5 separate regions of the Homo sapiens genome follow, and regions 1, 3, 4 and 5 are each linked to region 2. Evidence: promoter capture Hi-C in 16 types of primary human blood cells and fetal thymus (Javierre and others, 2016). All regions are on one chromosome and are shown on one strand. Each heading gives the region's core, a stretch centred on a gene start or on the middle of the fragment in contact. The rest is flanking DNA. Distances are from core to core; before and after follow the strand shown.

Evidence for each region. The method cuts DNA at HindIII sites, captures the fragments that hold promoters and counts their contacts. A CHiCAGO score of 5 or more calls a contact.
Region 1: a contact is called between the fragment with the promoter of LNP1 here and the fragment with the promoter of PCNP in region 2, in 14 of 17 cell types (total B cells, total CD4 T cells, fetal thymus and 11 more). The highest score is 15.3, in total B cells.
Region 3: a contact is called between the fragment with the promoter of TMEM45A here and the fragment with the promoter of PCNP in region 2, in 1 of 17 cell types (monocytes). The highest score is 5.0, in monocytes.
Region 4: a contact is called between the fragment with the promoter of NIT2 here and the fragment with the promoter of PCNP in region 2, in 7 of 17 cell types (fetal thymus, total B cells, total CD8 T cells and 4 more). The highest score is 9.8, in fetal thymus.
Region 5: the fragment with the promoter of CMSS1 here is called in contact with the fragment with the promoter of PCNP in region 2 in 2 of 17 cell types (fetal thymus and total B cells); the score reaches 13.8 in fetal thymus.

The regions. Positions count from the first base shown.
Region 1 is chr3:100,400,185-100,405,187 of GRCh38, forward strand. It overlaps LNP1 (leukemia NUP98 fusion partner 1), which reads left to right and starts at 1,355. Exons shown (of 4, transcript NM_001085451.2): 1 at 1,355-2,255. TOMM70 (translocase of outer mitochondrial membrane 70) reads right to left here and starts at 905. Exons shown (of 12, transcript NM_014820.5): 1 at 442-905. The coding sequence starts at 765. RefSeq lists enhancers at 1-242, 924-1,033, 1,084-1,133, 1,144-1,233 and silencers at 604-683, 1,294-1,373. The HindIII fragment of the contact is 4,606 bases long and covers 1-3,203 here.
Region 2 is chr3:101,570,801-101,575,530 of GRCh38, forward strand. PCNP (PEST proteolytic signal containing nuclear protein) reads left to right here and starts at 3,380. Exons shown (of 5, transcript NM_020357.3): 1 at 3,380-3,479. The coding sequence starts at 3,416. RefSeq lists enhancers at 2,591-3,536, 2,980-3,249, 3,350-3,479, 3,560-3,719, 3,740-3,899. The HindIII fragment of the contact is 5,212 bases long and covers 1,304-4,730 here.
Region 3 is chr3:100,488,661-100,493,870 of GRCh38, forward strand. TMEM45A (transmembrane protein 45A) reads left to right here and starts at 3,959. Exons shown (of 6, transcript NM_018004.3): 1 at 3,959-4,268. RefSeq lists a silencer at 3,677-3,976. The HindIII fragment of the contact is 5,818 bases long and covers 2,792-5,210 here.
Region 4 is chr3:100,330,870-100,336,006 of GRCh38, forward strand. It overlaps NIT2 (nitrilase family member 2), which reads left to right and starts at 3,888. Exons shown (of 10, transcript NM_020202.5): 1 at 3,888-3,929. The coding sequence starts at 3,923. RefSeq lists enhancers at 3,656-4,224, 4,318-4,367, 4,388-4,447, 4,568-4,647 and silencers at 3,888-4,217, 4,616-4,910. The HindIII fragment of the contact is 2,232 bases long and covers 2,517-4,748 here.
Region 5 is chr3:99,815,451-99,820,556 of GRCh38, forward strand. CMSS1 (cms1 ribosomal small subunit homolog) reads left to right here and starts at 2,412. Exons shown (of 10, transcript NM_032359.4): 1 at 2,412-2,593. The coding sequence starts at 2,530. HP09053 (a long non-coding RNA gene) reads right to left here. Exons shown (of 3, transcript NR_110821.1): 2 at 3,470-3,524; 3 at 1,182-3,022. It overlaps LOC105374010 (a long non-coding RNA gene), which reads left to right and starts at 2,412. Exons shown (of 5, transcript NR_189163.1): 1 at 2,412-2,593. RefSeq lists a silencer at 2,093-2,847 and enhancers at 2,263-3,137, 2,369-2,678. The HindIII fragment of the contact is 550 bases long and covers 2,274-2,823 here.

The sequences.
Region 1 (5,003 bases), core at 105-2,604, 1.2 Mb before region 2:
CACACTCCAAAAGGGGGAGTGGCTCATTATTAAAAGGCTCTTAGCGATTAGGTTGTAGGCTTTGGAAATCACAGAAACAGTTCGTATCACGATGTACCAATTGTTAATCGAATTTAGCTTCCTTCACTTATTAAATACAATCATCACATTTGCAAATGCCCCACTCCCATCTACAACACTAGGGATAAATGCTGTGTCACTGAGAAGAAAAGCAAAGGATTTTTCTGAAACCAAAAGCAAACTGTCAAAGAATGCCAGTAACCTGTCATCGAGCTACTCTATGCCCTCCACTGGCAGCCAGAAATGAGTCTCCCTAAACCCAAGTGTTGTGCTGCCGCTTGGCAGCTTCCGTCTGATGGGAAGCCCCCTCACTGACACAACCCGCCAAGGAAAAGCTGCACGAGCCAGTTTCCTCCTCTACGGCCTGGGGCTGCTTCTCACCATGTCCAAGTGAGCACCGGGACCTTCAGGGTGTCCGCTGCCCGGGGCCGGACTGGCCCTGCCCTCCGGGGTCTTCCGTTCGCTGTTGCGCTTCAGGCCGCTGGCGTCGCCCCGGCCTCTGGCCTCCCGGCGCCGTTGCTGCCGACTCCACAGGTATATGGCACCCGCGCCCAGCAGCAGGGGTGCCCCGACCGCCAGAGCCAGCTGCCATCGCGGCAGCCCCCCCGTGCCCGGGCCCGCAGTCCCGCCGCCGCCCACCCCACTCCCGGAGCTCGGTACAGCGGCTGCGACCACCGCTGCCTCCACAGGTTTAGAGGCGGCCATGACAAGTGTCCTCTGCCACCGCCTCCCTGTCTGTCGCGAGCGCCACAATCACCAAACAGCGTGCGAAGGAAGACCGAGGGAGGGAAGGAAAGCAATGAGCGAGCGAGCACGCTAGGCAGAGAGAGCGGACGACAGAAAAGGGCCAGAGGTCACCGGAAGCCCAGGGCATGCCGGGCCAGACCTGGCCGTCCTTCTCCTCCAGTATCAACCGAAGAGGGAGAGGAGGGGCGGAAATCACTTCCGGGTTAAGGGAAAGCGTGGGTGTGAGTAGGAGTCTTCGGAAACCCTTTTTCTTTCTTTTCGCCCCGCTGCTGTTCGGGAGATGGACTTCTGGAGTCCCCGTCGTAGCTGGTGTTGTCCCCTCTACCTTCAGGAAAGAAGGGCAGATGGCCCTCTTGCCTACTGAAGCCGAGGAGGGGCGCGTATACAGCGGGCTAAGGGCGCTCAAGAGATCCGAGTGGAAGAAAAAGCAGCGGCACAGCACTGGAATGGGCGGGAGTGGCAGAAGAGTTGTGAAGGCTATTGGCTAGCAAGGGTGGTGGGCGGGGCGTAGACCGAGCTACCCAGTTTACTGGTCGATTTCGGATCCAGTTTTCCAGTTATAGCCACGTTGGCACCTCTTGAACCTCTGTGGCCGTTAGCACGGTTTTCTGCCCGCGTGCCCGAGAAACCAACGGATTAGAAGGACTTTTAAAGATGTGTGAGGAAAGAGCTCACCGCTGAAGAAGGCTGCTGCATCACTGAACTTCTTATCACTAACATAGCGAGATTTTAGTTTGGACGAATTTGAGGTTATAGGGGAGATAGCGATGGCAGAAGACTAGGTGGAAATGGCACATCTAGGTTGGCTGCAGTCGAAACGGTTTGAGCGTGGTCGCTGTGGCTCATCGTCGGCACCAATTAACGAAGCGATGACATCTGCGTTGTTAGGGGTTTCTTAAACTGAGTTGGTAGAAATGCGAAGCGTCAGGGTTCCCGCCGGCTTCGAGCCTTTCTTGGCGTATTTGTATCTTGAGCTGATTTCTGCGTCAGCCCACATCTCGCTCTGATCCGCACGCCCCCCGGGTTGTTTTGCAGTAGCAGTCTCAGCCCTCTTCTCGTCTCATTCCCAAATCGTAATTTCAGTTCACAGCTTTTTATCTATAATAGCTTTATCAACTCTTTTTCCGATGCTCTGCACCAGATCTCTTAAAATATAAAATTACCTTGCAAGGTATTGTTTGGAATACACGGTATTTTCATGAAGACAACTATTAATAGAAAAATCAGAGTCCAGAACTATGGTTCTCCATTTCTGGTATACTGGTTTGCAGAAGCCTTACATTAAGATTTCATAAATGATTGTTTTGCTGTTAAGTGCAACAACATCACAGTAGAGCTACATAAAGATTGAAAGGAGATATTTTATCAAGTGGCACCAGAATGGACTGATTAAAATAGAATGGCCTAATTGGAAAGAATTTCAGGATCACCGGTTTCTCCTGCTTCATGTAAGTTCCTATTAGTAAATTGCCTTCAGGCAATAGGGTTTCTTAGCAACAGACTAAAAAAATGGGCTAAAAATAGCAGTGGAATTGAGTTGATCGTTGCAGGCAATAGGCTTTTCTCCCCTCCTGATCCCCCAATCCCCAAAGGCAAATTTTCTGCCCCTTAATATAAGCTCTGCCTTGCCTTTTTCAGAACACAAGTTAGGATTTTTTTTTTTTTCTGAAATTTCAGTTTTGCTGTGGCCTCTTGGAGGATTGTAGAGTGCTAACAATTACAAACTTGATAGGAACTAAAACATATTTGAAGTTTTTTTTTTAAACCTTTTTCTTATTTATTGGAGTAAGCAATACACTGTTACGGTTAAACTCCAAAAGTTACAGAGTTTACTGTGAAAAGTCTTCCTTCAGTCCCTGTCCTCAGCTGCACAGTTCCCCTCTCCAAAGGGAATCGGTGTTATTTTCTTGAAACATTTTTTGGATTAATATTTATCTAAAGGCCTGATTTTGTTTGGCTTTATTTTTAAGGTTGGCATTAGTAAACGAATCTGTTCTGGTTACTTTTATACTTTGATAAACATCTCATTTCCATTCTCTAGCCTATGCTATTCTCTCATTTTCTCCTCCATTTCCTAATTGATGGTACTGTAGAGCCAAATAGAGTGTCGCTTACTGGCTTTGGGACCTTACTGATCTGATGCATGTTTTTCTAATCTGTGAAATGGTGAAAACATCTACCTCTCAGGCTATAGTAAAGATTTAATTAGAGAATATTTAAAGTTCTTTTGATGTTTGTTACAAAGCAATAGATATTTGATGATTAGTTCTCAGTTTTTCTAAATTTTAAAGTAAAGAAGTAAAATACTGCCTTTCATTTCTAAAAAATTAAAGTTCTGTATATGTGAACATAGACATTATCTTTTTCTTGGTAGATTAGTGGAACTCAACTGAAGAAGCTTTCTTCACCTTTGATCTGTATCTTAGGAGGCAGTTAAATGAGATAGTCTAATGGACTAGGTTGTGGAAGACCTGAGTTTTTTTTTTTTTTGAGATGGAGTTTCGCTCTTGTTGCCCAGGCTGGAGTGCAATGGCGCCATCTTGGCTCACTGCAGCCTCTGCCTGCAGGCTTCAAGCAATTCTCCTCCCTCAGCGTCCCAGTAGCTGGGATTATAGGCGGCTGCTACCATGCCAGGCTAATTTTTTGTATATTGGCCAAGCTGGTCTTGAACTCCTGACCTCAGGTGATCTACCTGCCTCGGCCTCCCAAAGTGCTGGGAATACAGGCATAAGCCACCATGCCCAGCTGACCTGAATTCTTATTCTAAATTTTAATACCACTGAGTTGTGTGTGTGACCATGGGCAACTCTGCTTTCTTTATAATGTGAGGAGGGGTGGATTAGATTATTTTTAAGGCTCCTTATTGTTTTAAAATGATGTAATTCTGTCCCTTCAATTGTCATTGCTACATGAAAGGCCTTTCAGATTGCTAGAGTTGGTAAATAGCTGGTTGACTGGTGTCCAAACCTTCCAGCCAGTGCACAAATCTGCTTATATTAAGCATGTACATATAGAACAGCTCTATTCTCTTTCAGCTGTCTGATGTTTTCATTCTGTTTTTCCTTACTGAAAAATTACTGAAAAGAATTGTCTACATCTGTTACTTATTTGGCACCCATTTCATCCAAAATCTGTTGTAATCTAGTTTACAACTTTATAATTAGGCTGAAAGTGCTTTAGAAGTCATAAAATTCATTGTGGTTTTTTTGTGGGTGGGGGAGGTTGGCTGTCACCCACTTTTACTTGATACCACTGATTATTCTCTCCTTGAAATGTTCTTTTCCTTGGCTTCAGGAGAATAGAGTCTTCTGGTTCTTCTACGCTCTGACCAAACTCTAGATCAGTGCTGTCCATCACAGCTTTCTATGATGCTGGAAATGATTTATATTTATGATGTCCAATATGGTAGCCACTAGCCACATGTGGCTATTGAGCACTTGAAATGTAGTGTGACAAAGACTACAGTTTTCATTATTTAATTGATTTAAGTAGTATCATGTGGCTAATGACTACCATATTGGACAGCACAGCTCTAGATATTCCTCAAGTGAGGAATTTATTAGAATATGTCTTCTTCTTTATCTTCAATCTCTCCATTAGTAACCAAAGTAAATCTCATTGCTTCAGGTACCATTTCTGTGCAGATAATCACTGTCTATATATCTTTTGGCATAGCTTCCCTTTTTACCTCTAGCCCTATATTTCTTACTACTTACTGAGCAGTTTTGCTTGGATTCCTGACTTTTGTCAAAAATATAACTCATCATTTTCCCCACTCATTCTTTCTCTTTGTGTTATCCTTTTTTTTTTTTTTTTTCCAAGATGGAATTTCGCTCTGTTGCCCAGGCTGGAGTGCAGTGGTGTGATCTCGGCTTACTGCAACCTCTGCCTCCTGGGTTCAAGCGATTCTCTTGTCTCAGCCTCCCGAGTAGCTGGGACTACTGGCGCCCGCCACCACACCTGGATAATTTTTTGTATTTTTAGTAGAGACGGGGTTTCACCGTGTTAGCCAGGATGGTCTCGATCTTCTGACCTCGTGATCCGCCCGCCTCGGCCTCTCAAAGTGCTGGGATTACAGGCATGAGCTACTGTACCCAGCCTGTGTTATCCATTTTTTCTAATAATACCACTATTACCTTAGCAGTTACTCATATTTGAAACCATAGACCTTTTTAGACCTCTCTCTTTTTCATCCT
Region 2 (4,730 bases), core at 2,130-4,629:
TCCAGCCTTTTAAACCACTTAAATAGCTCACTAGAGGTTATAATCCATAGCTACTATGAAGCAAGCTCTCACCATGGCCAGGCAGCATATTATAGATTTAACCTTTATTATCCCAATGCCCTCAGTAACCCTATATGTATTATTCCATTTGTATAGTTATAACATATTCCATAACATTGTTATCCAGTACAAACTCACAGAATTAGCAAAATGCAGAATTAGAATTTAAGTCGAGTTTTTGTGTGGTGCAAAACTAATGCTCTTTGCCTTGGACTACATTGCCTATTCATTGTCAGAAAACGGTACCCCAAAATTTGGTGCTTTGACATGCTGAACTAGAGAAGCAGCCGCAAGGTTTCTCTGATCTCCCCACCCCACCTCCTGCCTCTCAATCCTCTGCCTCCCCCAAAACACGGGATAAGACTGTTCTTTGAAGTTTCTTATCTACCTAGAAACCACACACATCAAAGAACACAATTGCTTTCTATCTGCTTCCTCCCTGAAATTTCATTAACCAGAAGAAATTAAAACATATCACAAAGCCAGATACAGTGGTGCACACATGTAGTCCCAGCTACCTGTGAGTCTCAGATGGGAGGATTCTTGAGGCCAGGAGTTTGAGGCTGTAGTGTGCTATCATCATGCCTGTGAATAGCCACCACACTCCAGCCTGGGCAACACAGTGCGACCTGGTCTCATAAAAAAACAAAACTCACATCATAGAGGAAGAGACTGAAAATTAACCACCACACTTAGAGCCCAAACTTTGCCTCAAACTACTGTTTTTTGTTTTTGAGACAGGGTCTCACTCTGTCACCCAGGTTGGAGTGCAGTGGCGAGATCTTGGCTCACTGCAACCTTGCCTCCGGGGCTCAAGTGATCCTTCTATCTCAGCCTCCCTAGTAGCTGGGATTATGGGAGTGAGTCACCACGACTGGCCTTCGAATTATTATTGGTTCTCTAGTTTCACTTGGTTTACAAAGAGAATAATTTACAAGTGAATTTCTGCATTAATCTCTCCTAAAATCATTTACTACTCCTCTAAAATTGCCTGTAGCCCCCCCACCTCTCTCTCCCCTATGAAAAGTATTAAACTTCAACCATCTGACCCTTTTTTTAGTTTTCTTATTTTGTTGTATCATTCCCATGCTTATGCACATTAATTTTCTCTTGTTAACCTGTCTTTTATTAACAAGCATGTTGTCATGACTCTTTTGATGGGGAGGAAAGTGATCACCCCCTTTCCACCCCTTCATACTACACTACCTTTCCATTTCCTAACCCGTTTGTAGGAGGTTACTGAAGCTTGCATTAATTTCTTCAATAGATATTTATCCAGACTAGTATAATCCAGGTGCTGGGGAAACAGTGGTGAACAAGACAGGCACACCTCATGAAACTCACAGAACTGAAAGGTGAATGGATTACTATCTTCATCCTTTTTTTGTTTCGTTTTTTTCCTTTCATACCTAGTCCTGCACATGCATCCTTAACTTCTGCAGTGTGGTATATGGGAACTGGATCCGCTCCTAAATAGGTATGTGACTTCTCTGAGCTTTATCTTCTTCACTTAAAAATTACAAGCATCGGCCGGGCACGGTGGCTCACGCCTGTAATCCCAGCACTTAGGGAGGCTAAGGTGGGCGGATCACAAAGTCAGGAGTTCGAGACCAGCCTGGCCAACATAGTGAAACCCCGTCTCTACTAAAAATACAAACATTAGCCGGGTGTGGTGGCACGCGCCTGTTGTCCCAGCTACTCGAGAGGCTGAGGCAGGAGAATCGCTTGAACCCAGGAGGCGGAGGTTGCAGTGAGCCAAGACCATGCCATTGCACTCCAGCCTGGGTGACAGAATGAGAGACTCCATTCCACCCCCCATAAAAAATTACAAGCATCTGTAAATACATAATCTCAAATAAAAATCTTCGTGTATATCTCCATTTTTAAAATGATAGAAACGAGAGTCTCAATGATTACCTTGAAAAGATCACAAGGAAAATGAAACAAACATGAATTAAGTACCTGTAAGATAGTTTGCTGGTTACTTTTACATATATGATAAATGATGGATCAGGGACTTCAACCTAGATCACAAAATCACCACCACACTGCCCTGCTTCTGTCATGGGAAACACACTTTGATAATTTCTTCATTCTTTCTCCACTCCCTGGACTTGAAGCCCGAGAAGTAATCCATCCGCAAATATTGAACACTTTTTATATTCATATATGAAACGCACAGTACACAGTTTTTAAAAACTGGTCTCTGTTGTCAAGGAACTTTTGAGCCATTCAGAGAGACAACACTTAAAACACACACACACACACACACACACACAAACTGAGGGAAGTATGAAGTGACCAAATAATGGTATACAAAGATGATCTCATTTGATCCCTATTACCACTCTTTGAGGAGGTACTATTATTATTGCTCTTTTATAGAGAAGAAAAGGTAGCTCTGTAGGCAGTAAGCAAGTCTCAAGGTTACTCAAGCAGGAAAGGGCAAAACAGATTCAAATCCAAGTTCTGACTCCTAAGACTTTCTCTAACTATATATGGTAAGACAAACCCAGAAACTCCAGTTCCCTAAGCAAGTAATAGACCCCATTTGGCTAGGAGGGCTGGATAAATACTGAGAAAGGGGGAAGATGAAGCCGAAAAGGTAGGCTAGGGCCTAATGTAACTCACGGACTTCAGAATGCAGACTGTAGGAATCCACTAAAGGTTTCTTATTAAGGCAGAAATTACTGCAGTCTTAACTTGACATAGTAGTTTCTCAACTTGGTAGAAGCAGACTATACAAAAAGTAACTTTACAGTTGGCTACGTGACTTAGACAAATTACTCTCTCTGACCTCAACTCTTACAGGTAATTGAGAGGAGAATTCTATATTTGGACAATCGCCGTGATTAAACGAGTGTATGAAAGGCGTCTGAAGCTAGGGGGCGCTAGATAAACACTGATTTCCCCTTTAGGGAAAAAGAATGCAGGCTTTTTGTTTACATAGAGTTGGCAGGCATGCGTTATCCAGCAAGGCCGGAACGGAAGACACTCTCAGCCTCAGCTGCAACCACATCTGGGTATGCAGAAACCTTCTAAGATCCCAGCGTTTCCAGGGAGATGCTCCATTTCCCCTCACTTCTCCGGACCTGTCGCTAGACCATGAAGACCTGACTGCCCTCTAATAAAGTGCCTAGCCAGCACTCTTAGACCGCCCAACCTTCCCAGCTCTTCCTTCCGAGGCGGCTACTCGATGACATCACATCCACTTCCGCTTCCGAAGGCGGCCTCTTTTCATTCCTCGGGACCGCTCTAGGCTGCCACCACGCCGGCTGGCCCCAAAAACTCGATGGTTGTTGGGCGGGGTCGTGACGTCCTTGGCGTGGCTGCAGGGGAGGCCGCGGCGGGGAAAATGGCGGACGGGAAGGCGGGAGACGAGAAGCCTGAAAAGTCGCAGCGAGCTGGAGCCGCCGGAGGTGAACACAACCCCAGCGTCGTGGGCAGCGTGGGATGCTCCGGGCCTTTCTTTGAGCTCCCAGGGTGGGGGGAGTGGGGTGGGGCGAGAATGGGCGGATCTGGACCTCACCCGGCCAGGTGTTGGGCCCAGACCTGCCTCGGGCACGCCCGATGCGGCCCTCTGGGCTCCGGGCCTACATCGCCTCCTTGCCTGGGGAGAGCCGGCCACTGTTCGTCACCTCCTGGCCCCAGCGGAGGCCCTGATTCCGAGGAGAAGGGAGATGGGCGCCAGAAAGGGAGACCGAACTCGGGGTGGGACCAGGAGCGGCGGTGCAGGAGCCGCTACCGCCACACCGGAGACGCACATCACACAAAACACACACACCGGAGACGCTCATGAGACATAACATACACACAGTGCGAGCCACCGAGTAGTTGCCGCGGGAACTGGCCGCAGGCTGAGTTTCTGACGGTGCCGGCCTCTCAGTTACACGCAGGAGTTAATTACGCTTGCTGCTCCCTTTTCACTGAGGAGGTGGACAACTCCGGCCTGCTCTCTTTCCTTTACTTCCAAGTTTAATATTGACCCTGTGACAGGATGGGCCGAGGTGATGGAGGGGAAGAGGAATGCCTTTGCCTGCCCTCTGGTTTAAGCTGCGGGGTCTAGGGCTAAGGTTTGGTTGCTTTTCTTTGAAGTATCTCCCTTAGGCTGTTGCCAGCTGACCGCTTGCCAGATACTTAGGCGACTAAATAGTCTAGCGTGACTCTTCCTGTATTTTGTTACGACGTTAAACTCAGGTTACAGCTATCCTTATTCTGTCCATTCCACTCCCTAAATTCGGGTCTTGTGCGTGAAGGAAAAGAAACGTAATCTCTCCAGCTCCCTCTTTGCACATAACAAGACAAGTGACTTAACACGTGCGAGCTGTTTAAAATGTTTTTAGAACATTTTAAACATTATTCTCTATTCTGACCACCTTAGTTATCATTCCCGAAATTATTTAATATGAGAAAATAGAAACGATTAATAGCATATGAAGGCCACTAGTAGACCTACTAACATAATGTTTCATGTTAATTGCCTTGGGAACAAAAATTATTGAAAAGATTAAGTGTAATGTTAATTACTTTGGACCCAGGATTTCCTTTTTAAAAAACACGTACAATTCTGTTAGTTAAGCTGGAACTCCATCTCTCTCTTCCCTCCCCACCCCCTGTCTTTTTTTTTTTTTATAACTAGTAAAATACCTTATGAAAGAACAATTTAAATT
Region 3 (5,210 bases), core at 2,709-5,208, 1.1 Mb before region 2:
TGTGTATCTTCCTCATGTGCCAGGCTTGTTGCTTTCCTTTCACCCCAGTCGTCCCCTATTCACACCAAGCCCTTTTGTCCAGAGGGCCAGGTGCAGGAAGGATAGTACATTTTGATAAGTTTATAGAGATCCCTTATGTCCACTCCTTGGGCCCACACAGGATACTATAGGAGGACTCGGTGAGCAGTGTACTCAACTCAACTCTTAAGTGTTCATTACCTTTATGATCTAGGACAAGGTCTGTCCAACAAGAGATTGCAGGTGGCTGAACCAGAATTAAGTTTGAATCCCCTAGCCTTTTGTCCAGCCTAACTCTGAAGGTCACACCAACCCAGCTGGCCTAGTGTTACCATTAAGAGAAAGAATGAAACATCATGCCCAAGAATGGTCAGGTCAGGATCCCAAATTTTCCTAACTCTCTGCTTCTTTCATCTGGAACATGACCCAGGAAGCAGCTGAGCAAGATGATCCCTTTCTGGAGAGAGTTACATCCAGTGACCAAACTAAATTGTGGTGGTCAGGAGGAGGTGAGGGAGATAGAGTCAGAAGTATTTTTTTAAACTTTTTCTTTCGAGCTAATTGTAGATGCACATGCAAGTTGTAAGAAATAATACAGAGAAAGCCTGTGTACTCATCACCCAGTTTCCCCCAATGGTAACATTCTGCAGAATTACATTATCTCAATATCTCAACAATATCCCATGGATACAGTCAAGCTATTAATAAAAATTTCCATCACCACAAAGATCCCTCATGTTGTTCTTTCATAGCCAAGCCTACTTGCCTCCTACTCCACCATCTCCTTAATACCTGGCAACCACTTATCTGCTCTTTATTTGTATAATTTTGTAACTTGAAGGATGTTGCACAAATAGAATTACAAAGTATGTATGGAAAGCATCCAGTCTTTCACATTCAGTATAAGGTCAGCTGTAGGTACTTTGGTAGGTGTTCTTTATCAAGTGTGGAAATTCCCTTCTATTCTTCTTTTTCTGAGCGTTTTTATGGTGCTGAATTTTGTCAAGTGCTTGTTCTACATTGATTGATATATTCATGCGATTTTTCTTTTCTTTAGCTTGTTCATATCAGGAATTGCATTGATCGACATTTGTTTTTTTTTTTTTTTTTGAGACAGAGTTTCACTCTGTTGCCCCATCTAGAGTGCAGTGGCAACTGCAGTCTCAACCCCCCAGGCTCAGGTGATCCTCCCACCTCAGTCCCACCTGTACCTGAGACTACAGGTGTGTGACACCATGCTGGGCTAATTTTCATATTTTGTGTAGAGATGGGGTTGTGTCCTGTTGCCCAGGCTGGTCTCAAACTTCTGGGCTCAAAGGATTCGCTGGACTTGGTCTCCCAAAGTGCTGGGATTACAGGCATGAGGCACCACGCCTGGGTTGATTGACTTTAGAATTTTGATTTTGCATCCCTGAAAAAAACTCCACTATGTTGTGGTGTATAATTATTTTTATATATTGCTGAATTCTGTTTGGTAATACGTTGTTAAAGATTTCTGCATCTTCACCTTGTTACAGCCTGGAAAAGGCGGGAGTCTAGGATTTCTACTCAGCCTCTGTTCATGTAGGAGTGAGTGGGGCCAGGGTTTTTCCTGTGGTGTTTGGCTGAAGTAGAGCCATTACTGCCTAAAAGTTTTTCTGTCTTTCTAGGCTTCCCATTTCCTGGTCCTTGACTAGAGAGAGCAGGGTTCGTTGAGACTTTTTTGTCTGTGCCTGTTGTCATTTTTGGGTTGCTGGCTTCTTCAGCTCCAAGTTTGGGGCAAAGAAACAACAGAAAGCAAGCCCAGGGAACTCAGCATCATGTCATTCCTTGGGTTCTGAGATTTCTAGCTCATCTGTCTTCTTCTCTCAACCTCTTGGAGTTTCCAATGTTGGAAAATATATGAAGTCCAGGATTTTTTGTTGTGCTTAGCAGGAGAAATGGAATACTGATGTCCACTCCATCTTCCTGAGAGCAGAAGGATTCTTTTTTTTTTTTTTTTTTTTTTTTTTTAGTGATTTTTGGTCAATATCAGATGCCTGTTGATGGTAATGAGTGTGGAGGGTTAATCAATACCTTGACTATCAGCCCACTGTTGAGCGGCTTCTGTGATAAAAAGTGCAGCATTGTGAGATTACAAATGATTCAGAAAGCTGAACACATGACACATTACTTTCAAGGGCTACATTCAAATGTTGCTCCTTTGTGGGTTTCCTTGACTGCCAGAAGGATTGGAGTGTTGTGGTTGCACTCATGTAGTGCCACTTTACTTGCTGAGCAGGCTCCTGCATTTGTGGGGGTCTTACAGAGTTATGATAACATTGCAGTCAGGTCCATTGAAATTGAGGTGTCTGACTATCCAATTGTGGCAGACAGACTTGTAGGTGGCCCCTGTGATCTCTATTCTCTGGCTTTTCAGAACCGTGGATGGCCATTGGGAGCCTAAGAGCAGTCTTTCGGAGCTAAGGGCAGCCTCTAGCTCACATCTAGAAAGAAACTGGGGAGTCAGTCCTAGAGCTGCAAAGAAATGAATTCTGTCAATGACCTGAGAAAGCTTGGAAATGATTCTTCTCCAGTAGAGCCTGCAGATGACAATGCAGCCCGGCTGACACCTTGATTGCACCCTTGTGAGAGCATAAGCAGAGGATCTAGTTTGGCCATGCCTGGACTTCCAACCTTCAGAAACTGTGCAGTGATATACATGTGTTGTACAAAGCACTAAGTTTGTGGGAATCTGTTGCGCAGCAATAGATGACAAATACACCAACAAACAAGACATTATCATTGTAGTGAAAGCTTTGGACACTCATAATAAATTCTGACCCCTGCAGGGATGGCAAATTGCAGATGAGTTTATGTATCTATGATGGAGTGCTGCAAACATATGTTTGGAGACATCTGTGGTAGGCTGGGATAGGTGCTGGGTCTTGGAGATTATTTTAATATCTATTTTATAAGGTAGTTGTAAGAATTAAATGTGATAATGCAGGTAAAAACTGTTTAATGCGGGGTCTGGTGCCTTCCCTGGCGTGCAGCCCAGTGAGTGTGGCTCTTGCCCACTTAATATTTCAATGAGGGAACGGTTCTGTCAATATGCACAAATTATAATGGCAATTGATTTGCAGATCTCTTCTTTCCTCCTCTCCTTCTAACTCACTAATCAAAAAACTGGTTAACCCTCCAACTGCTTTCCCAAGTTCAAAGCAACGTTTGGCGCAGTCCTTTCTCAATTCTCACACAACAAAGCAGTATTTCTCGGTTCCCTACAACGACCATCACTCAATACAAAAAACCAAGCAGGTCTGCCAAACCACTCTCATACCCAGTCCTGGTCATCTCCGCAGGAACAACTTCAATTCTGGTTAATAAGGACTTCAACGAAGGGTTCATTAAGGTTTTCCCTCCACCGAAAGAAAGAATACCGTCCCCAGGGAGCAGGCTCTTGGGCCCTATTATTTGCTCCCTGGAGAAAGTGAAGAGAGAGGAATCCCAAGGCGTGGCCTGAACGCCCTTTGGGGGCGTGGGCAGCCCGGAGCCCCAGCCTCTTCCACTCCAAGCACCAGGCGCGTCTTATTTTCAGCCCCCAAACGGCTACAAATCATCCGCCTTATTTTCAGCCTCCAAACGGCTACAAATCATCCTGTTTAAACAAAGCGGTCTGTCTAAAAGGAGGGGCATAACAGGGCCGGGGCAGGGGCAAGACCTGGGAGTAGGCAACCTCCCTCTCTGCCCCGAGCCGTCCCGGCCGCGCAGCCGCCGAGTGCCACATCAGCGACGGCGCTGCACTTCCACATTCCCTTAGGATGCAGCCAGCGGGCCTGAGAGAGGGGCGGGCCCGAGGCCCTCCGGAGTGGCGGGCCGCCCGGCCAATCGGCAGCAAGTGAAGAGCTGCGGCCACCAATGAGCTGGGGCTTGTGCCAGCCGCGGCCGCCGAGGCCCGTGCCCCGCGGGGGGAACAGATGAAGCACATCTGGACAGCTGTGCGGCCTCCTCGCGGGCCGACGTCAGCCGAGCACGTCCCCCACGTCCTCTCCTTCTCGCCACTTATTATTTATTCGTTTTCCCAAAGAAGCGACTAGGGACCCAAGTTTAAAAATTCCTCCCCCCACCCAATGCGAGACGTGGCCAGATCCCATCCAACACACGGTTTAATTTTCATGGGGCTCTGGGATCAAAAGAACAGAAACAGCAACAACAAAAGCCCAGCCGCTGTCTGATTTTAAGCTGGCAAAGTGGGAAAAATAAAGTGTTGAGTAAACAGACCAAGTTGGGTAAGTTTTGGATACGTGCTGGATATCATATTTCTCTTGCCGTGATCTCTATCCTGTGTCTTTTTACTGTTCTCACCAGCTTTCTCTTCATCAAGGGGAGAAAAGTAACACTTGCTGCGACAAACTGGACCCTTCGCTCCCTTCTCTTCCGTTTCACTAACATTTTAATTTAATTTTTTTGGTTTGCTATTCTTTTTTTTTTTTTTTTTTTTTTGGTGAGCTAGTTTTAAATATCCTGGGAGCAGCAATGTGACTGATATTCTGTTGTAAACCTCTAACTCCAAAATTGAATCTATTGATAAATTTATTTCTCTATTTTCTTTCTGTGAAAATACTGTGGGTATTTGTAAAGCCAAAATCGTTTTTTATCCCCAACTCTGGGACTGTTTTGATGGGAGATTGAGAAAATTATCTGATCTTTTCAGAATTAACACGTTTGCTTCTGTTAATAGGATGTCTAATATAAATTACGTAAAACCTGGGTTATGCAGGTAGTTGCTGGATTTTTCACTTAAATCTGGAGGTAGTTGCAAGCCAAATATATATCTTTTCGGTATTCTCCTATCCATAGTGGGAGACCTGAATTCCTTTATAATTGTTAAAAACAAACAAACATGTGACAGACCACTTGTGTGTTCATAAACTTATAATTGTATATATATACTATATAGTATATATGCACTATATAGTATGGTATATATACTATATACATGCTATGTATACACTATGCTATATGGTGTATATGCTCTATGTATGCTATATAGTATACTCTATATACGCTATATATTTTGTTGTTGTTGTAGTTTGTTTGTTTGTTTTTGAGACAGAGTCTCACTCTTGTCGCCAAGGCTGGAGTGCAATGGCACGATCTCGGCTTACTGGAACCTCTGCCTCCCGGGTTCAAGTGATTCTCCTGACTCAGCCTCCCAAGTAGCTGGGATT
Region 4 (5,137 bases), core at 2,638-5,137, 1.2 Mb before region 2:
ATTGTGGGTCTTAAATACCTCCTGAGAGCTCCTGCCCCATCCCTTGGAGGAAGGAATGCTGATAACATAAAGTTCCCATAAAGGCCAATAGAACTGGGTTTGGAGAGCTTCTAGATAGCTGACCACGTTCGTGGAGGTTCTGGAGGGCATGGAAGCTTTGTGCCCCTCCTCCCATACTTTGCCCTACACATCTCTTCCTTGTAGCCTTTGCAACATCCTTTATAATAAACCAGGAAACATGTTTCCATGAGTTCTGTGAGCTGCTCCAGCAAGTTATTCAAACCCAAAGATGGGATCATGGCAACCCCAACTTGAAAGTGGTTGGTCAGAAGTTCTGGAGTCCAAGACATATGACTGGTGCCGGTGTGTCTTCCTCAGGTAGACAGTGTTGGAATTGAATAGGAGGATACCCAGCTGGTGTCCGCTGCTTGGTGGTAGGGAGGAACCCCCTCACATTTGGTCCCAGAATTCTTCTGTGATGATGATTGTTGTGGTGGTGATGTAAGAGCAGAGGAAAAACACGGAGAGTTTTCCTGGAACACATATCCACCTCTCCCCCAAAAACTGAGCTCACGTTCCCCTAGACTCACCTCATACTATGAAGCGGCAGCTGGAGGAATGCTGATGGAAAGGAGAGACCAGTTAGGAAGTGCCTGTAGCAGTCTCCCCAAGGTGAGGAAGGCCTACCTGTGGACGGTGGTGGTGGGAACTGAAAGGAGGAATCAGGGACATTTCCTGAGAGTAAGAAGAGCCCTGTCCCTTACCAGAGGTGGGGAATGAAAGACTCGAAAGTCACTGAAGTGACTTAGGTTTTCTTGGAGGGCTGGAAAGCAGGGAGAATTAGAAAACTGGGCATAAATTGTGGTGCCTGTAAGTGCTGGGTGGAGAAGCTCTTTTGGAGGTGATACATTTAGTTTCACATAGTTGAGTTGGAACTGATGTTGAGACATGTAAATAGAGATGGCGGCAGCCGGAGATGTTGAAATAGGTCCTCTGGAGTAAAAATAAAAATCTGACTAGTAACAGCCTGGAAATGGTCATTAAGCCTGTGAGACATGGGTAGAAATGAGAATAGAGACTGAAAAGGCACACCAGATTTTTAGCTGGGCTTTCAAGATCCATTTGGCCTGGTAGTTTTGTTTTTTGGCCTATTTTCATACGTCAGATGAACAGGAACATGGAAACGAAGGCAGAGCTGCTGCAGAGAAGGGACAGTGAGGGGAGTGGTGGTGGGGAGGGCTGCACAAACTTCACCCTTCAGCCAGATTCTTCTTCCTTTGCCTCTAAATCCTTTCACATACAGGTGAGGAAAAGGTCCTGAGGGTGAGGTGATTTGCCCTAGGTATTAACATCTAATCAGTGTCAGAGCCAGAACCAGAACCCAGTGACTAGCTTTTCCATTGTGCCCAGAAAGTTCTAAAGAAAGGTTTAAAAAGCGCACTTTCATTTAGCTTTTCCTTTTCTAGGAACACCCCTAGTGCCCAAGTCAGCAGTTTCCCTGCATGTGACAGAGGGACACAGTACCCATAGGCTTTTGGTCTTGATGGCCTTCTCCTGGTCCTGCTTCTCTCTCTCTCTTTTTTTTTTTAATGGAGTCTGGCTCTGTCACCCAGGCTGGTGTGCAGTGGCACAATCTCGGCTCACCGCAACATTCGCCTCCCAGGTTCAAGTGATTCTGCTGTCTCAGCCTCCTGAGTAGCTGGGATTACAGGTGTGTGCCACCACGCCCAGCTAATTTTTGCATTTTTAGTAGAGACGGGGTTTCACCATGCTGGTCAGGCTGGTCTCGAGCTCCTGACCTCTTGATCCACCTGCCTCCACCTCCTGAAGTGCTGGGATTATGTTAATTATTAAATCTAGGAGGAGGACACAGCTGTTCCTCCACCAGGCAGTGGCGCCCGGCCTGGTCCTTCTCCTCTAATGGCTCCTTCCCAGGCTCCACAGGCCCTTCTTCTTTTGCGTGTGCCTTTCATACTCCGCTTGTGTGTTCTCATCCAAATTCAGAGCTTCCTCTTAGTTAAAACTGCTGGTGACTCCCAAGTCAATTTCCAGCCCAGACATCTTCTGAGCTTGAGGCTTTGGTCCGGTTGCCTACTGGGCATCTCCACCTGGATGCCATGGCTCATGCCTATAAGGCCAGCACTTTTTGAAGCCAAAGTGGGAGGATCACTTGAGCCTAGGAGTTTGAGACCAGCCTGGGCAACACTGTAAGAATCCACTTCTAAAAAAATGAAATAATTTGCATTTTGAACAAGCACTTCAAATAACATTTCCAGCCAGGTTTAGGACCACTATTAGTTACAATGTTAGTCCAATAAATTTGGAAATCTAGATGAATTTTTTTAACAGGTTGTAAGTGACCACAGGTTGACCCTGAAACCTCATAGGTTAATAAGCATAGCAGAAATGAAAAGGTTTTTAAAGATCTTCCTGCTACAAAGCCAAGTCCAGATAGTCTCTTAAGCTGCAGAAAGACCATAACTGCTATGTATTTCCCCCCAATTTTTTTTTATGAAAGCTTAAAATTTTAAACTTCTACAAAGTTTTAATCTAGTACCATGAACAGCTGTGTCCTCCTCCTAGATTTAATAATTAACATTTTGCCATATTTGCTTTATCTTATGTGTTTTCTTTTTGCTGACGATTTTCAAGTCAAACATTCTGATGGTTCATCCCTAATACTTCCTCATTTTCTAAGAGTAAAGAATTGTCACAAGCACAACACTATAGCACACAAAATAATTCAGAAAAGCATCAAATATCTCGTTCATATTTAAATCTCCCTAGTTGCCCCCAAAATGTTTTTATAGTGTTCTTTTACAAACCAAGATCTGTTTCAGTATAAACTATTCTGGGGCATTCCAAAAGGTGGTTAAGTTTTGGATTTTTGTTCCACAAGTCTGACAAGGCACAAAAACACAAAACACGAAAATTAAAAAGCAATCTAATAAATAAAAATGCAAAAATCATAGTCTATAGGCTGGGCGCAGCAGCTCACGCCTATAATTCCAGCACTTTGGGAGGCTAAGGCAGTAGGGTCTTGAGCTCAGGAGTTTGAGACCAGCCTGGGCAAAATAGCAAGGCCCCACCTCTATTAAAAGTAAAAAACTTAAAAAAAAAAAAAAAAGAAAGAAAGAAAGAAAAAGAAAAAAGGAAAAGAAATAGCTAGGTGTGGTGGTGTGTGCCTGTAGTCCCAGCTACTTGGGAGGCTGAGGACGGAGGATCGCTTGAGCCGGGAGGTTGAGGCTGCAATGGGCTGAGACTGCTGCACTGCACTCCTGACTGGATGACAGAGTGAGACCCTGTCTAAAACAAACAAACAAAAAAGGATATTAGCAAAGAGATGACAATGTATTCGAGGACTGACTTGTTGAGGGCATGGCGTTGAACCCTCAGCATCTTTCCCGTTGGCCTAGCAGCCTTGTAGTCAGATTTTACAGACGTCTCGCGTGCCTAAACCAACCAGGGTCATTCCGTCCCCGTCACAGAGACTTGTTCAAATAGCTCAAGCCCATCAGCATACGGTGTTAACCTGGCCACAGAGGTGATTCAACCAGCTAGAAGTTCAGTCCTTTTGCGGAGAATCAGCAAACGCTACAAATCAGGGCTTTCCTCCCTGAAAAGTCTGGTTGTTAAGACATTCACCAGCACACCACCTCGACTTAGGCCGTTCCCTTTTGCCCTTTGCCTTTCGAGGCATGCTTTTTCCGGACTGTGTTGCAATTAACCATTTCTCGTTGGTCCGTCCTGGTGTTACAGGCGCACTGGAATGAACGCAGACCCTTCTCTCCTCCCGGCCGGGGCCAGGAGGAGGGGTGGGGCGGGGCCTCTGACGCGGTCCCCGCCCCACCGTAGCGACGCCGCGGTCCGCCGGATCTCCAGCGCTCAGTCCGCGCCGCAGGTGGTGCTTGTCTGCAGAGTCATGACCTGTAAGTGGCGCGGCCGCGCGCTGCAGCTCGAGTTCGGGCCGCGGGGGAGGCTTTGGAGCGGCGCCGGCGGTGGCTCGGCCGGCTCAGCCCCTCCGCCCCGCGTCCCCGCCGTGCGCGGCCTTCCCTGAGGCGGGCGTCCGCGTGGGTCCGGGATCGCGTGGCCGGGCGGCCGGGCGCACTCCCGGGATTCCAGGCTTCCGGGGTGGCGGGCGAGGCCCAGAAAGCACCAGGCCACCCGGCCGCGCCGGCACCCGCCGCGTCCTGCTTGACAGAGGCTGATGGACGTGTATTTCTCCACGGTGTGGGCCGCGGTGGTAGGATCCAACTCCCTTGGGTGTTTTCAAGTTGCGTGACCTCCTCCAGCCCCGCCCTGCACAAAGGTGCCCAGGCGGTTCTTCGTCTCCCCACTCACTTTCCAGCTCCAGATTTTGACTTGGATTCTTGCTGTGTCACTTACTTTGTTCAGTGACTTTGTGCAGCTTTCCCCCTGCAAGTCCCCTGTTTCTTTATTTGTAAAATGATGTTAATGATACCTCACACAATGATGTTAATGTGTGAAGGACCTGGCACATTGCTTTAAATGTTATTCCTTTGTTGTTTCCTTCGCTCACAGTATTTTATTCTTTTTTTCCGCCCCTTGGTAAGGTCTTCGTTGTTAGATTATGATGAATATTAGGGCAGCCTTAAAAGTCTTCACTTTACAGATGAGATGGAGTGACGGGCGTCTCCTCCTCAGCATGAGGAACTGCCCAGTGGCGGGGTTTCCCTGCTGCAGCATGTCTGTAGAGTGGGTCATTTGCAGAATGATAGGCAGTCCTAAGCTTAGTTGAGGACCCCGCCCTTGTGGGTGAGATGTGTAGGAGAGGAAGCCATCAGCGTAGCCATGGTGAGCTTTATCTTTCCCACCCTCGGAAGCACAGACATGGCCCGGCACGTGGCTCACGCCTGTAATCCCAACAGTTTGGGAAGCTGAGGCACGAGGATCGCTTGAGTTCACGAGTCAAGAGTTGGAGACCAGCCTGGGCAACATGGCGACACCTTGTCTGTACTAAAAAATACAAAATTAGCCCGGTGTGGTGGCACGCCCCTTTAGTCCCAAACTACTTGGGAAGCTGAGGAGGGAGAATGGCTTAACGCTGGGAAATGGAGGGGAGACGTTTAGTGGATTTATCTGCTGTTCTGATAACAGCTCAAAATATCTGTTTGCC
Region 5 (5,106 bases), core at 1,162-3,661, 1.8 Mb before region 2:
TTTTTGCCGACAGACATCCATTGTCAAGTGCTACCTCCCAGTTCGCCCCATTGGGAAATGAATGCTTCCTCCTTTAAACTCTAATAATACTCATTCAGATACTGAACAGTAAGAGGGAGCAGAAAAAGACCTAATAGTTATTTCAGCCTGAGCTTCCCTGTGTTAGATGATATGATCAGATACTGGAGAGTACGGTTTTACAATACACTGATTTATAAACCAGGATGCCTATTCACTAATAACCAATTCACTAATAACAGAACAAACAGAACAGAAATGGATGCTACAACTTAGGTTGGCTATTCAATATAATCTGGGGTCAGTAAACTTTTTTCTGTAAAGTTAGAGCAAATATATGAGGGAATAGTAATAAATAGTAAATATATGAGGGCTACAGTCTCTGCTGCATATTTTTCTTTACGTTTTTGTTGTTGTCGTTGTTGTTTTGTTCTGTTTCTTACAATGCTTTAAAAATGTAAAAAATGGCTGGACACAGTGGCTTAGGCCTCTAATACCAACACTTTGGCAGGCTGGAGTGGGAGGACTGCTTGAAGCCAGGTGTTAAAGACCAGCCTGGGCAGCAAAATGAGACGCCATATCTACAAAAAACAAAAACAACAACAAAATAACCAAGAATGGTGGCATGTGCCTGTAGTCCCAGCTACTCGGGAGGCTGAGGCGAGGTGGAATATAATGTAAGACCATTCATAGTTCATGGTACAAAACAGGTATCAATTCCCATTAATGCATAGACACTCCATAATTTAGTATTGCCAGACTTCTTTTTTTTTTTTTTTTTTTTTTTTTTGAGACCGAGTTTCGCTTTTGTCAACCAGGCTGGAGTGTAATGGCACCATCTCGGCTCACCGCAACCTCCACTTCCCGGGTTTAAGCAATTCGCCTACCTCAGACTCTCAAGTAGCTGGAATTACAGGCGCCTGCCACCATGCCCGGCTAATTTTTGTATTTTTAGTAGAGATGGGTTTCGCCATTTTGGCCAGGCTGGTCTGGAATTCTTGACCTCAGGTGATTCACCCACCTCGGCCTCCCAAAGCGTTGGGATTACAGGCTTGAGCCACCGCGCCCGGCCCATACTTCTTAATTTTGTGATTTATTGCCTGAAAAACGGTCTCGCTGTGGTGTTTTTTTTGTATTTCCCAGATTAATAATCAGACTGAATTCTTTTCATGTTTATTAGCCATAGCAACTCCTCTTCCACACTGGCATTTCTTATCTTTTTCAAAAATCTATTAATCACGAAAATCTCGTCATCTACATTTCTTCACAAAAGCCATATTACTTTTGATCTTTATAGATTATTTTACATTTGCCATATTTATACATAATATCTTCCCTTTTGGGGCATTTAGAGTGTGCGGACAAAGTCTAGGCAGTAATGCATTTATAAAACATCTATGAGTTGGGTGCACACGGGGTAATTTTCCACATATGGCTAATCCTAGCCTCATCAGATTAAGTTTCCCTGTCTTGTCATTTCCGAGGATGTATCCTATTAGAAGTCTAGCCCTTTATTCCTACAAATTGAATTTCCACTACTGTAGGCTAACATCTGAATGGACTCATCTTACTATTCCATGCATAGTACCAGGCACGTTGCGTGCTTTTACTACATTTTGTATAATTTTTACGTCTGTGTTTGATGTCCTGAAAAATACCGTCCACAATTACTTCACAGCTAGCCCCAGCACTTGGCGCCCAGCGGGTTTTCCTAGTCCCTCCCTGCCAAATCACGTTGGGACTGAGACAAGAGGCACTGCGGGTCTCTTACCTATAGTTACGAAGCAATGGACTCCCTTATTACTTCGTTTCCCAAATAGGGGGTGGGACACACAACCGAGGGAGTATGAGGAAAACAACTTGCGGGTCTTCGAGCCACTTGCGTCTTTCTGTGGGCGAGCCTTTCCAGGCCAATTACATTTTCTTTACTCATATTGCATAAATAGCAGAACTACATTTACCACAAAGGCCCGACATTCATGGTCATGGATCCTTGCGCATGTTTTCTAAGAGCAAACTGTACAAACACATAAACTCTGAAACACTGACGCACAAGCGAAAACACACGCACATGTTTGGGTCTTCTCCCGCTGCGCAAGTTCTTTGAAACTGAGCGGAGAAAAATCGTCTTCACATGGTGTCTCACACTTTCGACACAATCTTATCGGGAAACGTAACACGTAAACAAAATTTTTTAAAATGCATTATCAAAAACGATGACAATCCCTTTCGTCTTATGTTCCTTTTTGTCTTTAAGCTTTGGGGGGATTTATGTTGCGTTTCCAAACTGCTTCTGCCTGTCGGCGCCTGTGTGGAAACTGCGACGAGTCTGGGAGCGGCTGCCGGAGAGGCGGGGCAGAGGTGTGACGTCATCGCCGCGGGGCGGAGGCGACAGTGTCTAGCGGGAGCTCCGCGTGTAGCTACGCCGGCCGCCTGGCTTTGAGACAACGTGATTCTCCGCAGCTGGTCGCCTACCCGTGATGTTCTGCCCACGTCGAGACCTGAGCTGAAATGGCAGACGATCTCGGAGACGAGTGGTGGGAGAACCAGCCGACTGGAGCAGGCAGCAGCCCAGGTACCCACTCTGTGCCCGCGCTCCTACGGGGCCTCTCCCGGAGCCCTTCCGTGCGCCTCAGCCCTGGTCGCTTCTGGCGATCGCGGTGTTTGCCCAGCAGGGGTGTGCACCGCCTTGGGAGCGCGCAAGCATCTCGGGGAAAATGGTGCAAGAGATTCTTTAACACGTGAAACAGACAGCTGTGACATTAACTCAGATCTGTCTGCCAGCCAGGAAGGATCCTTTCCACAAGCTTTCTCTTTTCCTTATTTCTTGAGAATGGATAAGACAGTTTTTGTGAAGAGAGGCAACTTTGTATGATGGTTAAGGGTGACCCATGAACTGCTTTCAATTCAGACTGAGGTCAGAAGCAGGGGTTGCTGCTTCAGACTCCCTCCATTCAAATCACGACTCCAGTATTCTGATACTGTTTAGCCTCCTTTTCCTCATCTGTAAAATAATGATAACAATAATGTCCATTTCGTAAAGTTGTGAAGATTAAGTGAAGTTAGTACAGTAATGCACTTTAGCATAGTGCTTGACATATAATGTGTGGTAAATATAAGTTACTGTATTTCTTGTGGTCATCATCATTATCATGGAATTTGGAATAGTAGAACTGGAAGGAGGCTTAAATAGAGATCATCCTTTGAACTCACTTATTTTACAGATGAGAAACATAACCTAAAGATGTCAAGTAACTTGACAAGTTCACAAAGCTAGCTCCTTTCAGAAACAATACTAGAATTCAGTTAACACAATTTGAATAGTTTCTACTATGCTCTGCTGTGTTTACCAACTCCTGATGCAGTGGGCATTTCATCCCCAAGTAGAGTAGCGTTAAGTGACCCCCCATGTCAGGCTAGCCTTGAACTTTTTAAGTTCCATCACACCTACCATGCAATTATTGGTTGGTTGGTTTTTATCACTCCTCAAGGTCTGCCTCTTTTCTCTACAAGAGAAGACAGGGCCAAAGTCAGATTCATACTTCTGTCATCCACAGGGCCCTGCACATGTTAGACACTTGATACCTATTTGCTGCAAACAATCTTGAAATACTAGTTGTGAAATATCCATTAAAAATAACCAACTTCATTTGTTGCATTGTTTCCGGAAGGTCAAGCCTTCAGGTACAAACTAAGCAGATGTCATTTTTAGAAAGGTAGCCAATACAACATTTCCTTGATTAAACTTCCTGACTCTTTTGCAGCCCTGTGGTGTTCCACATTTACTTTAATAACTACCCCTCCCAACTCAGGTGTTAAAAAGCTCTATTTTATGATATGATTGAAGATGAACAGAGGCCATTTAAGAAATAGTTGAATTCTGTTTGAGTGGTGAAGGGGATCCCAATTCTTGGTTCTAGTCCTCACTAGCTGTGTGACTTTCAAGTTATTCATCCGTTGGAAGAAAGGCAGTCAACATGTATTGAGTATCTATTATGTGACAAATGTCTTCATAAATATGAATTGATTTAACTTTCATAACATCCCGAAAAGGTAAGTATTCTCTTCATTTGTATAGGTGAAGAAACAGAAAAAAGTTAAGTCGTGTTCTTAGGAACACACATTGAAGAAGAGGTCTGGGAAGAGTTTAGTCAAGTGTGATTGATTTTGAAAGTCACGCTTTTCCCGCTACTACTTTGTGACTTCTCTGGGCCTTTGTATCATAATCTGTAAAGAGCCCTTAAAGATCATCTTTTTTAGGGTTTTACCAACCAACAGTTTTTTTTTTCTTTTTTTTTTTTTTTGACACGGAGTCTCCCTCTGTCGCCCAGGCTGGAGTGCAGTGGCACGATCTCGGCTCACTGCAACCTCTGCCTCCTGGGTTCAAGCGATTCTCCTGCCTCAGCCTCCCAAGTAACTGGGATTACAGGTGCCCGCCACCACACCCAGCTAATTTTTGTATTTTTAGTAGAGACGGGGTTTCACCATGTTGGCCAGGCTGGTCTTGATCTCTTGACCTCGTGATCTGCCCACCTCGGCCTCCCAAAGTGCTGGGATTACAGGCGTGAGCCACCGTGCCTGGCCCCCAACAGTTTTAAACACTGAATCTAGTAAAACTTTAAATCGCTACAGCCTCCTTCATCTAAGTTGCCAGAATTCTCATGAAGACAGTGTGTTGGAGTGCCTAAGATTGCTCTACTTCTTACATTCCTTCTAGCCATAAGACTAACCCTTTTTTTTTTTTTGAGACGAAGTCTCACTCTTGTCCCCCAGTCTGGAGTACAGTGGTGCGATCTCAGTTCACTGCAACCTCCACCTCCTGGGTTCAAGCGATTCTCCTGCCTCAGCCTCCCGAGTAGTTGGGATTACAGGAGCCTGCCACCACCCCCAGCTAATTTTTGTATTTTTAGTAGAGATGGGGTTTCACCATGTTGGCCAGGCTGGTCTTGAGCTCCTGACCTGAAGTGATCTGCTCGCCTTGGCCTCCCAAAGTGCTGGGATTACAGGTGTGAATCACCGCACCCGGCCAAGACTAAGCTTTGAAAATTGCTGGCATTAAATTTATCAGAGGCCTTTGCTTTGTTCGCT